Regions from separate parts of the Homo sapiens genome. Here region 1 is linked to region 2. The links are contacts of gene promoters, found by promoter capture Hi-C in blood cells and fetal thymus (Javierre and others, 2016). All regions are on one chromosome and are shown on one strand. Each heading gives the region's core, a stretch centred on a gene start or on the middle of the fragment in contact. The rest is flanking DNA. Distances are from core to core; before and after follow the strand shown. Region 1 holds the start of LOC124904597 (LINE-1 retrotransposable element ORF2 protein-like). Region 2 holds the start of KCNT2 (potassium sodium-activated channel subfamily T member 2).

Region 1 (4,635 bases), core at 1,117-3,616, 240 kb before region 2:
AAATTAGTGTAAATCACCACTTGCCTCACCCATTACTTCCTAAGGAATAAATGATTTTCCCTTTATCATGCAGAAGCATTCCAGTCTCCGGATCTCATCCTTTACTCCCTCACTGCGTTTTCAATCTCTTTTTCTTTAGTGGTACTTAAAATTTAAACATTAAAAGCAAACAAAAATAGATAAATACTTGTGTACATAGAAAAAGCTTTCCTTAACATTTCTGTGCAATAGGACTTCCATTATTTTTCTTTCTTCGATTAATGAACAAACCTAATGAAGTAGCAATCTCCAACCACACTTCATTTCTTATCATTCCTTAATTTGTTCATATTTTCTCACAATAAGAAAATCCCCATTGTAGAAATTGTTTTTTCAGAAGTCCTCAGAGAACAGCCTCCAAAATGCTTGCTCAGTCTTAATCTAGAATCATCTATGTTGTTAACAATCCAGTTCCTTTTAGAAATCCTATCTCAGTGTTATTTTATTATGCTATACTATATTTGCTTTCCTTTTCTTCACTCTATTTCCTAGAATTAATAAATTCCTAGAAAATAGTCTCAAATTGTCATTTCTCCCAAATCCCTACTACTTCCTCCTTCACATTTGTGAGCCTGACTGGCACGATCCACCACCTCAGGAACCAAGCGTGCAGCAATTCCTACCACATTATGTCTTCATCAGAAAGCAAATACATCCAATATCAAACCACTTTTCCTTCTGCCAACTATGTACTTCATTATTTTCTACTGTCCAGTGTCAATAAGTGAGGAGATTTTCTTTTTTTCCCCCTCTCTCTTTTCTACACTCATATCTAATCAGTGGCAAACTTCTGTGAATTCTAACTAAGCAGTATTTTTCTTATCAATTCTCTCTTTTTCTTACCCCTCGATTATTACTGAGGTGAAAAAGATTACCTCATGGATGGGACTAATTAAGTATTGTGAAAACAAATTGAAAGACAAAGAAAATGAATTGCTAAATTTTTAAAATTCTGATAAAGCTGAAATGTAATCAGGATGGGCCAGTTGAATGTTAACAAACTGGACTGATAATCCAGCATTTCCTTGTGGAAATCATTATAGTCCATGTTCAAAGGTGATTTTTTCTAAAGAATAAATTTTTTTTTATTTATTTTTGTTTTTTTATTATTATACTTTAAGTTTTAGGGTACATGTGCACATTGTGCAGGTTAGTTACATATGTATACATGTGCCATGCTGGTGTGCTGCACCCACTAACTCGTCATCTAGCATTAGGTATATTTCCCAGTGCTATCCCTCCCTCCTCCCCCCACCCCACAACAGTCCCCAGAATGTGATGTTCCCCTTCCTGTGTCCATGTGATCTCATTGTTCAATTCCCACCTATGAGTGAGAATATGTGGTGTTTGGTTTTTTGTTCCTGCGATAGTTTACTGAGAATGATGATTTCCAATTTCATCCATGTCCCTACAAAGGACATGAACTCATCCTTTTTTATGGCTGCATAATAATCCATGGTGTATATGTGCCACATTTTCTTAATCCAGTCTATCATTGTTGGACATTTGGGTTGGTTCCAAGTCTTTGCTATTGTGAATAATGCCGCAATAAACATATGTGTGCATGTGTCTTTATAGCAGCATGATTTATAGTCCTTTGGGTATATACCCAGTAATGGGATGGCTGGGTCAAATGGTATTTCTAGTTCTAGATCCCTGAGGAATCACCACACTGCGAAGGACATGAACAGACACTTCTCAAAAGAAGACATTTATGCAGCCAAAAAACACATGAAAAAATGCTCACCATCACTGGCCATCAGAGAAATGCAAATCAAAACCACAATGAGATACCATCTCACACCAGTTAGAATGGCAATCATTAAAAAGTCAGGAAACAACAGGTGCTGGAGAGGATGTGGAGAAATAGGAACACTTTTACACTGTTGGTGGGACTGTAAACTAGTTCAACCATTGTGGAAGAATAAATTTATTTTCATTGAGAATAAACTTATTTTTGACAAGATTGCCAAATAAATAAAAATGCTAATTTAATCAACAATAAGACATACCACTGCCAAGAGCACAGAACACTCAAATGTAAATAAAGTGAGCGGGTCTGAAAAATGAGGAAAAAAATTGAGAAGCATTAAAATACAGAATAAACTCTCTAAAAATATAAATTACACAGTTCTATGAAGTCATCTAATTTATTTATGACTGACAGATCAGCTAGAACTGGAATTAACATAATAACAAATAGAAAAAGAAAATGTTATATTGTAAGAGTTTTAATCAGCCTTGGGAATTGTATTAGTCAGAGTACTGGGTAAGTTGCTGGAGAGACCACTTCATGCCCACTAGGATGGTTATGATAAAAAAAAGCGCGGATAATTACGAATACTGCTGATGATGTAAAGAAAGTAGCATCCTGATATATTGATGATGATAATCAAAGTGCTATTGGAAAAATATTCTGACAGTTCCTAAAGAAGCTAAACAGAGTGACCATACGACCCAGCAATTCTACTCCTAGATATAGACGCAAGAAAATGAAAGCCTATGTTACACAAAAACCTTTTCACAAATGTTAACAGCAGCATTGTGAAAATGTTAGAAGCAACCCAAATACCCACCAACTGATGAGTGGAAAAATAAAATGTGATATATCCATGCAATGGAATATTATTCAGTTGTAAAAAGGAATAAAGTGCTGGTGCATATTACAATATGAATGAACCTTGAAAAACATTATGTACAATGTTCAACATTTGGGTGACCAGTACACTAGAAGCCCAATCTCTACCATTATGCAATGCACCCAAGTAACCAACATGCACATATATCCCCTGAATCTAAAGCAAAACCAAATTATTTAAAATTCTTTACGTTCATTTATTTACTGTATTACCAAATATACTAAAATGATTTCAGCTGAGCCTAATGGCTCAGGTCTGTAATTCCAGCACTTTGGAAGGCCAAGTCAGATGGATCACTTGAGCCCAGGAGTTCGAGACTAGCCTGGGCAACATGGCAAAATCCCGTCACTACAAAAAAAAAAAAAAAAAAAAAAAAAAAAAGCCTGGCATGGTGGTTCATGACTATAGTCCCAGCTACTGTGGAGGCTGCAGTAAATCTATAAAAGCAGAAATAGATTGTGGTTGCCTAGGGCTGCAAGAATTGGTGGGGGGAAAATGTAGGGTGATGCTAAAGGGTAGATAATTTCTTTATGTGGTTCTGGAATCATTTAATGGTGATGGTTGGATAATTCTATGAATATACTTTTAACATATTGAATTGTACACTTTAAATGGGTGAATTGTATAGTATGTAAGTTTTATTTCAATAAATCTACTATAAGAAGTTATTATGGTGGATGATAGCATTTACTGTGACACAGTTGTAAAATAATTTTGCAAGTCACTCTTATTTAAAGGAAATCCTTAATTATATAACAATGTTTTCAACAACATTGCTTTCTTTTTTAATAAGGCAAAATTCATTAGAGTATGTTGGGAAACGTCTTATTCTAAGGATCACTAAAATCTTTTTTTAACTTATGTGAAGTATAATTCTTTTTCACCAGGCAATACTGTTTGTCAATAAATAATATTTACTAGGAGATGCACAACGAAATTTAACTTCAGTCATGAGTAATGAGCTGTGTTATATAGTGTTTATGGGACTTATTTTATCACTCATGTATACAACAATGAAGTTGCCTAGATAGTCATCATTACAGTTGTCTGAGTCTGTACGAAGACGTTACGGAAAAATAATGAAGACACTTGATGAGTTCTATGAATGTTCACTTAATTGGTGTTAAAATAATTTTTAGTACTTTATTTAATTGCATCAAAATGACAAACACTTTCTGCAAAGAAGATAAACGTCATTCCTAATCCTGTTACATCCTTCCTATTGCACAGATTAAAGGCTTGTAAGTATATAGAATAGAAATATTCCTATTCACAACTTTGAGAAAATTGCTCCTAAGAAACTTTTACCATCCCAATTAGGCAGTCAGAAGTAAGACAGTAAAATCTAATTTATATAACACTGAGTATTTACTACTTTTAAATTAACAACTTATCCATCTATAAATAAATCTCAAAAAAGAATTTTCCTTTTTCTGGATTTATTTGATTTGACACTTCACCTAAACAATTATCAATTAACTTACTTAATATGAGTAATCATAACCACTAGCATAAGTGGAATTTACTTCGAAAATCAACATTTTGTCTGAAATATAAGATTAGAAATATGACAAGATATGAAATGAAGTACATTTGTCTCTTTAAATAAGAGCAATGACTATGTTCACTAGTTATATTTTCTTTGATCATCCTAGTCAAAAACAACTTCTGTATTTCATAAAACTCTATCAAAATAAACAAACAAGAATAAAAAAGGTTCTAATGGTACAACTTTCTCCAACCTTGAAATGCATATAAAAAGTGATTTATACTGCATTAGCTAATTTTATACAACTACTTTGTTATTATTCTATTATAAAATTGCCATTTTGACATCAATTGTGTACATTAAGCTTTCAGATAAAACTTACCTCAGGAACAGAAAAATTTGACTTTAAGTTCTTATACTAATAACTGTGAGAATCCTTTAATTAAATGTTTCATTTGCTGCAGAAGT
Region 2 (4,680 bases), core at 1,255-3,754:
GAATAATAATAAACTGAACTGAAGAGTTATCTTTACACTGATAAGATATAATATCCAAGACACGTATTTAATTTACCAAAATTTCAGTTTCCTTGTGCCTAACATAATTGCCTGCTATTCAGAGTTTGTCTGAGGATTAACTAAGAAAGAACATACCGCACAGTTAAAAGAACTTGGGAGTACTTATTTCCAACTAAATGTTAGTTCTGCGCCTCTCCATCCTTCCTCTTGTCACAGTTTTATAAGGTAGACAGTATAATTCCCATTATAAAAAATAATATTGCTGAATCTCATAATGGCTGAATGACTTTCCCAAGGCCACTCAGCTAGTGAAGGAAACAGCCAAGGACTGAATCTGGGTTTCTCTGATTCCAAGTATCTTGCCTTCAAAGATTAACAACAAATGGAACCAAAACCAAAGAATAGTTTTCCATGAAGCCACAAAAGTAGCCAAATCCTTAAAAATGGTTGAATGATTGTTTTAAATATTTAATAACTTATTTTAGTAGTAAATGTGGCCTGCTTTTTAAGTTAAAGTTGGGCTAGCATAACCTTTTAATAGAACATAAAATTTTAACCATTCTGCAAAACTTTTTTAATATGGCACTGATCCATTTAGGCAGTGTTCAACTAACCAAAATTCTTAATTACTAAAATATTTCTGCAGCATCCTTAGAAAAATGAGGGCAACCACATGAAAATTAACATATTGGATATGATATTTAAAACAAACAAACAACAATACCATCACTATAACCAAAGTATGTGCTTTATGTGTTTAATCTATCTCACACTTTCTACAAAGAGGATTTCTATTCTATATAATGATCCTGAGGTCCTGAACTAAATATACATTCAGTCACTAGGAACACCATGCTACACTTACTAAGCCATTTAACCAGGCTAATGCAGTTTATCTAAATGTCAATTTGTATTACAAATTCACTTAAAAATTATTTTCTTTATCTTCAGTTTACCCAAACACTTTACAAGAATACTGAGAAATTGGTATTACTTCTTTAAATTTTTAGCCAATATGTGTGGTTTTGCCTAAAAAAGAGATTGAACCAAAATATCCTCTACAAAACATCCATCTCCTTTCAAATTACTAATATGAGACCAAACAAGATGCCCATAATTGATGCTCAAGATAAAATCCTCAGTGTGTAGAGACAGGAGTTGGTATTGGGAGCTGAAAAGGTGAAGAAAAGAAATAGAGTGTATTGGTCAGTGGTGAATGAGGAGGGGATTTTGGATTGGACCAATAATGGATCTTTTATATAACTAAAATAGCACATCAATACTAAACTAAACTTCAATGAAACATTTCAATTGAGTTGAGAACCTAGTTAGTATACATGTATTATTTTAAAACAAAGAAATGTGGCATGTGATATATGGGATGACTATTCCAGAAAATACTAAATTCGCTGAAATACAAAATGTGCTTGAGACAGAAATAGACAGAGGAATTTCAGAAGTTTGTGCAAAGCAGTAATGCTATAAATAAAACACATGAACAATATTTTGCTAACAATAAATATTCTAGTTTTGAAACTTAATTTTAATTTTGAGACATATATTCTGTTTCAGTTAAAAAAATATACTAGTTATGAAAAGGTTGTATCATGTTATACAAACATCATTATTCATAATGGTCAGAGTCACCTGTTCAAAGTGAGTATATTGTATTAAAAAGGTTGTCATTTTCACTAACTACCTGTTACATATTTAAACCAATTGTCTACTTAAAACTCCAAAATGTTTAAACAGCATAAAATTTCCAGTGCCAAGTAGATACCTACTCAAGACAACACAGACAAGGAGGAGGTAAATAGACTCAGGAGATTTTAAGTTTCTAATGTGCTTTTTCAAACAACTTGCATGCAATTTTGAGTTTGATTAACCACACCTAAGGAAAAAATGCAAATTTTCTGGAAATGATATTGCATACCATTTGGGTGTATTGTACCTCTGATACCAGCCTTATACACATCCTAGAAAAGCACAGATAGACAAAAGAATAAGCACCAAATGAATGCAATAAATACCTTGCAAGAATAAGAAAAGTGTAAAGAAAAAGAGTTCCTTATCTATAGCAACAGTTATATAGAGTCAAAATGGAGAGACAAATCAGAGTCTCTTTTACTCCCTCCCCCAGCCTAGTCTCCCTCTCTGGCTCCGTTTTCCTTTTCTCCCTCCTTTCCCCACTTCGGCCCTCCCATTTCCGTCTCTTTTTCAGCAATATTTACAGAACAATCCTCCACCACACCACTCACCTGTCGTCGTTTTGCCATCCTTGGTCCCCTAGCAGCAAATCTCGAAACCTGTACCTGGGAGGCAGAGGGGGCACTTCGCTCTCCAAATCAACCATCCTTCCTCAAAGAGTGGGAAACATCAAACAACAAATGGAGGAGAGGAGGGAGAAAGAAAGAAAATATTGCGGAGTACAGGGAGAGGACTAACAAGACGCTGTGGCCGAGAGAGGGATGGGAGAAGGGGAAGGGGACAGGGAGGGGGAGGGGGTCCGCTTGGAGCCGGAAGCTAAGGCTTGAAAGGGGGCTGGCTCCTCTTTCCCGAGGGTGTAATGGGGATGATGCAAACCCAACCCAGGAGCAAAAGTCTGGCTCTGACAAGAATCAACGCTGCCAAGGAACCGCCCCCAGGCTCGGCACCGCCTCTGGTCCCCAGGACTAGGGGGAGGCGGGTATAAAAAGTTACTTCGCCGAAAAAGACGCGCGGTGCCTAGAAAGAGGGGAGAGGGGTGGGAGTGAGCGCCGCTTGATGGTGAAGCACTTTCCTTAAAGGCAGTTGCCAGATCCTCCCAGAGGGCAGCCTCCCGGCTACTGTTCCCTCGGGCGGGCTTGCATCCGGCACAGCCCTGAGCTGGCGGGAATCGGGGGCGGTGGGTTTCGGCCCCAGACGCGGCCAACCCGGCTCTCCCCGCAATCTCCCTGTGGAGATGGAGCTGGAGGCCCAGCCAATGAGACTCCCCCTCATTAGCATAGCACAGTGACGGCACGGGGGTGCCTTGGGGACAACCAATGGGGGCGAGCTAATTAGCGGATTGCGGGGCTCCAGACCCTTCTCTGGGAGGAGGGGGGCCAGGGTGCTTGGAGTGTTCCACTATGCCACGAGCTCCCTCGCTTTGATTGCCTTCAGTCCAGGTGGGCGGGATGAAAAAATTGCACGTTTCTGGAAAGGGAATCCCCACTCTCAGCCCCAGGAAAATCCCATTTTTTTCTCACATTCTGAAAGAAGGGAGGTGTTTCCCTGAACTCGGGGAAAAAGAAGGGCCACCTTAGGCCGCTGAAGAGAAGCATTTAGATGACAGGGAAAGCACATGGAAACGCACTGAGGATTTTACAGTGGTGAGTTGCTGTTACTGCTGTCGCTGCTACTAGCAGCGTTGTGGGCTTCCAGGTGGCCTGGCCTCAGCCTTCGGTCCCCTCCTATTAGTGGTTCACACGGAGGAAGAAGTGAGCCCGAGAGAACAGGGTCTGTTTTTCAGTAAGAACCACTGCTTACATGAACCCTGCTACACAAGCTATGGTTCTATTTGCGCTTACCGTTCTTTCCTTCAAAAACTGATTGCATCAGAGTATATACAGACCGAATACCAACCACCTGACAGCCTGGGCCGGAGGATAACCATATGGCTTCTCCTGCCCTTACTTAAGAACCGCTCTGTGTGGAGGAACAAGCTTGTTCCTTGATAAATGGATACGATGTGAGAGACAATAATCAAAGAACATACAGAGGGATTTGGAAATACCTGTGAGGTACACATACTTCTTCGAGGTGGGGGTCAAGGAAGACATTGAAAATGAACCAAGCCTTCTATATTCGTTCGCAGCCTACTTTAGGGAAAAGAGCAAAGGTGAAGCAAGCAGAGAGAATAGTATGAGTAGAGGCATAGGGATTTTTTAGAATATTTGGCTTATCCAGAAAATAGTGATTAATTTGGCATGATTAATGCTCAGTAGAGGTCATGTAGCAGAGGGTTTATTTAAGAAGCTAGAAATGAAGGAAGAAATTACCAAAACTTGTAACATCAAATGAAATACAATGACTACTGAAACCTGAAGAATAGCAGTTGAAATAAAAGTCATACTGTTTGTCTCTGTCTTCAAAATCCTACTCATCCTTCCAGACCCATCTCAAATTACATATCCTCCATTAGATTTCTTGGTTTTTCCAGCTTCTTATGATGTCTTCTTCCTTTGAACCCCTTTGTTTGAACCCTTCATAACCCATGTGAGTATTTTGCCTGGAATGCTTACTATAACCTGACCCGCTATACGATTATCTGTGCGTTTTTCTTTCAACTCTTCCCCTCTCCCTGTGGCTTAGCTGCCTCTAGCACGGGACCTTCAAAATAGCCACATTTCAACAAATAGGTGTGGAGTTGCATTAAAAGCTATTAAATCTAGGAAATTAAGCATGTTTTTTTCCATCCATGCTTGCACTCCTGTGGTATGTGTTTGTTTATGAAATCATAATTTAGCACGAACTTTTGTAATTACTTTGCTAAATAAGAAAGTAATATTGCTACATTATTAGTTTATACAGATAGAGATAGAGAGAGAGATCTGGTTTATATTTTAGACCTTATCATCTCCTATTAAAATGATTCTATTAATTTTATTTGTAATGTTCCAAGTTAATATTTATAGTTAC

Evidence for each region. Contacts are between HindIII fragments. The CHiCAGO score rates a contact against its expected background, and 5 or more counts as called.
Region 1: a contact is called between a fragment that was not itself captured here and the fragment with the promoter of KCNT2 in region 2, in 2 of 17 cell types (megakaryocytes and endothelial precursors). The highest score is 8.2, in megakaryocytes.

The regions. Positions count from the first base shown.
Region 1 is chr1:196,368,191-196,372,825 of GRCh38, forward strand. The region is part of intron 14 of KCNT2 (potassium sodium-activated channel subfamily T member 2); the gene reads right to left. LOC124904597 (LINE-1 retrotransposable element ORF2 protein-like) reads right to left here and starts at 2,988. Exons shown (of 2, transcript XR_007067045.1): 1 at 1-2,988. The HindIII fragment of the contact is 4,326 bases long and covers 204-4,529 here.
Region 2 is chr1:196,605,936-196,610,615 of GRCh38, forward strand. KCNT2 (potassium sodium-activated channel subfamily T member 2) reads right to left here and starts at 2,505. Exons shown (of 28, transcript NM_198503.5): 1 at 2,280-2,505. The coding sequence starts at 2,374. RefSeq lists an enhancer at 2,840-3,356. The HindIII fragment of the contact is 4,315 bases long and covers 1-3,702 here.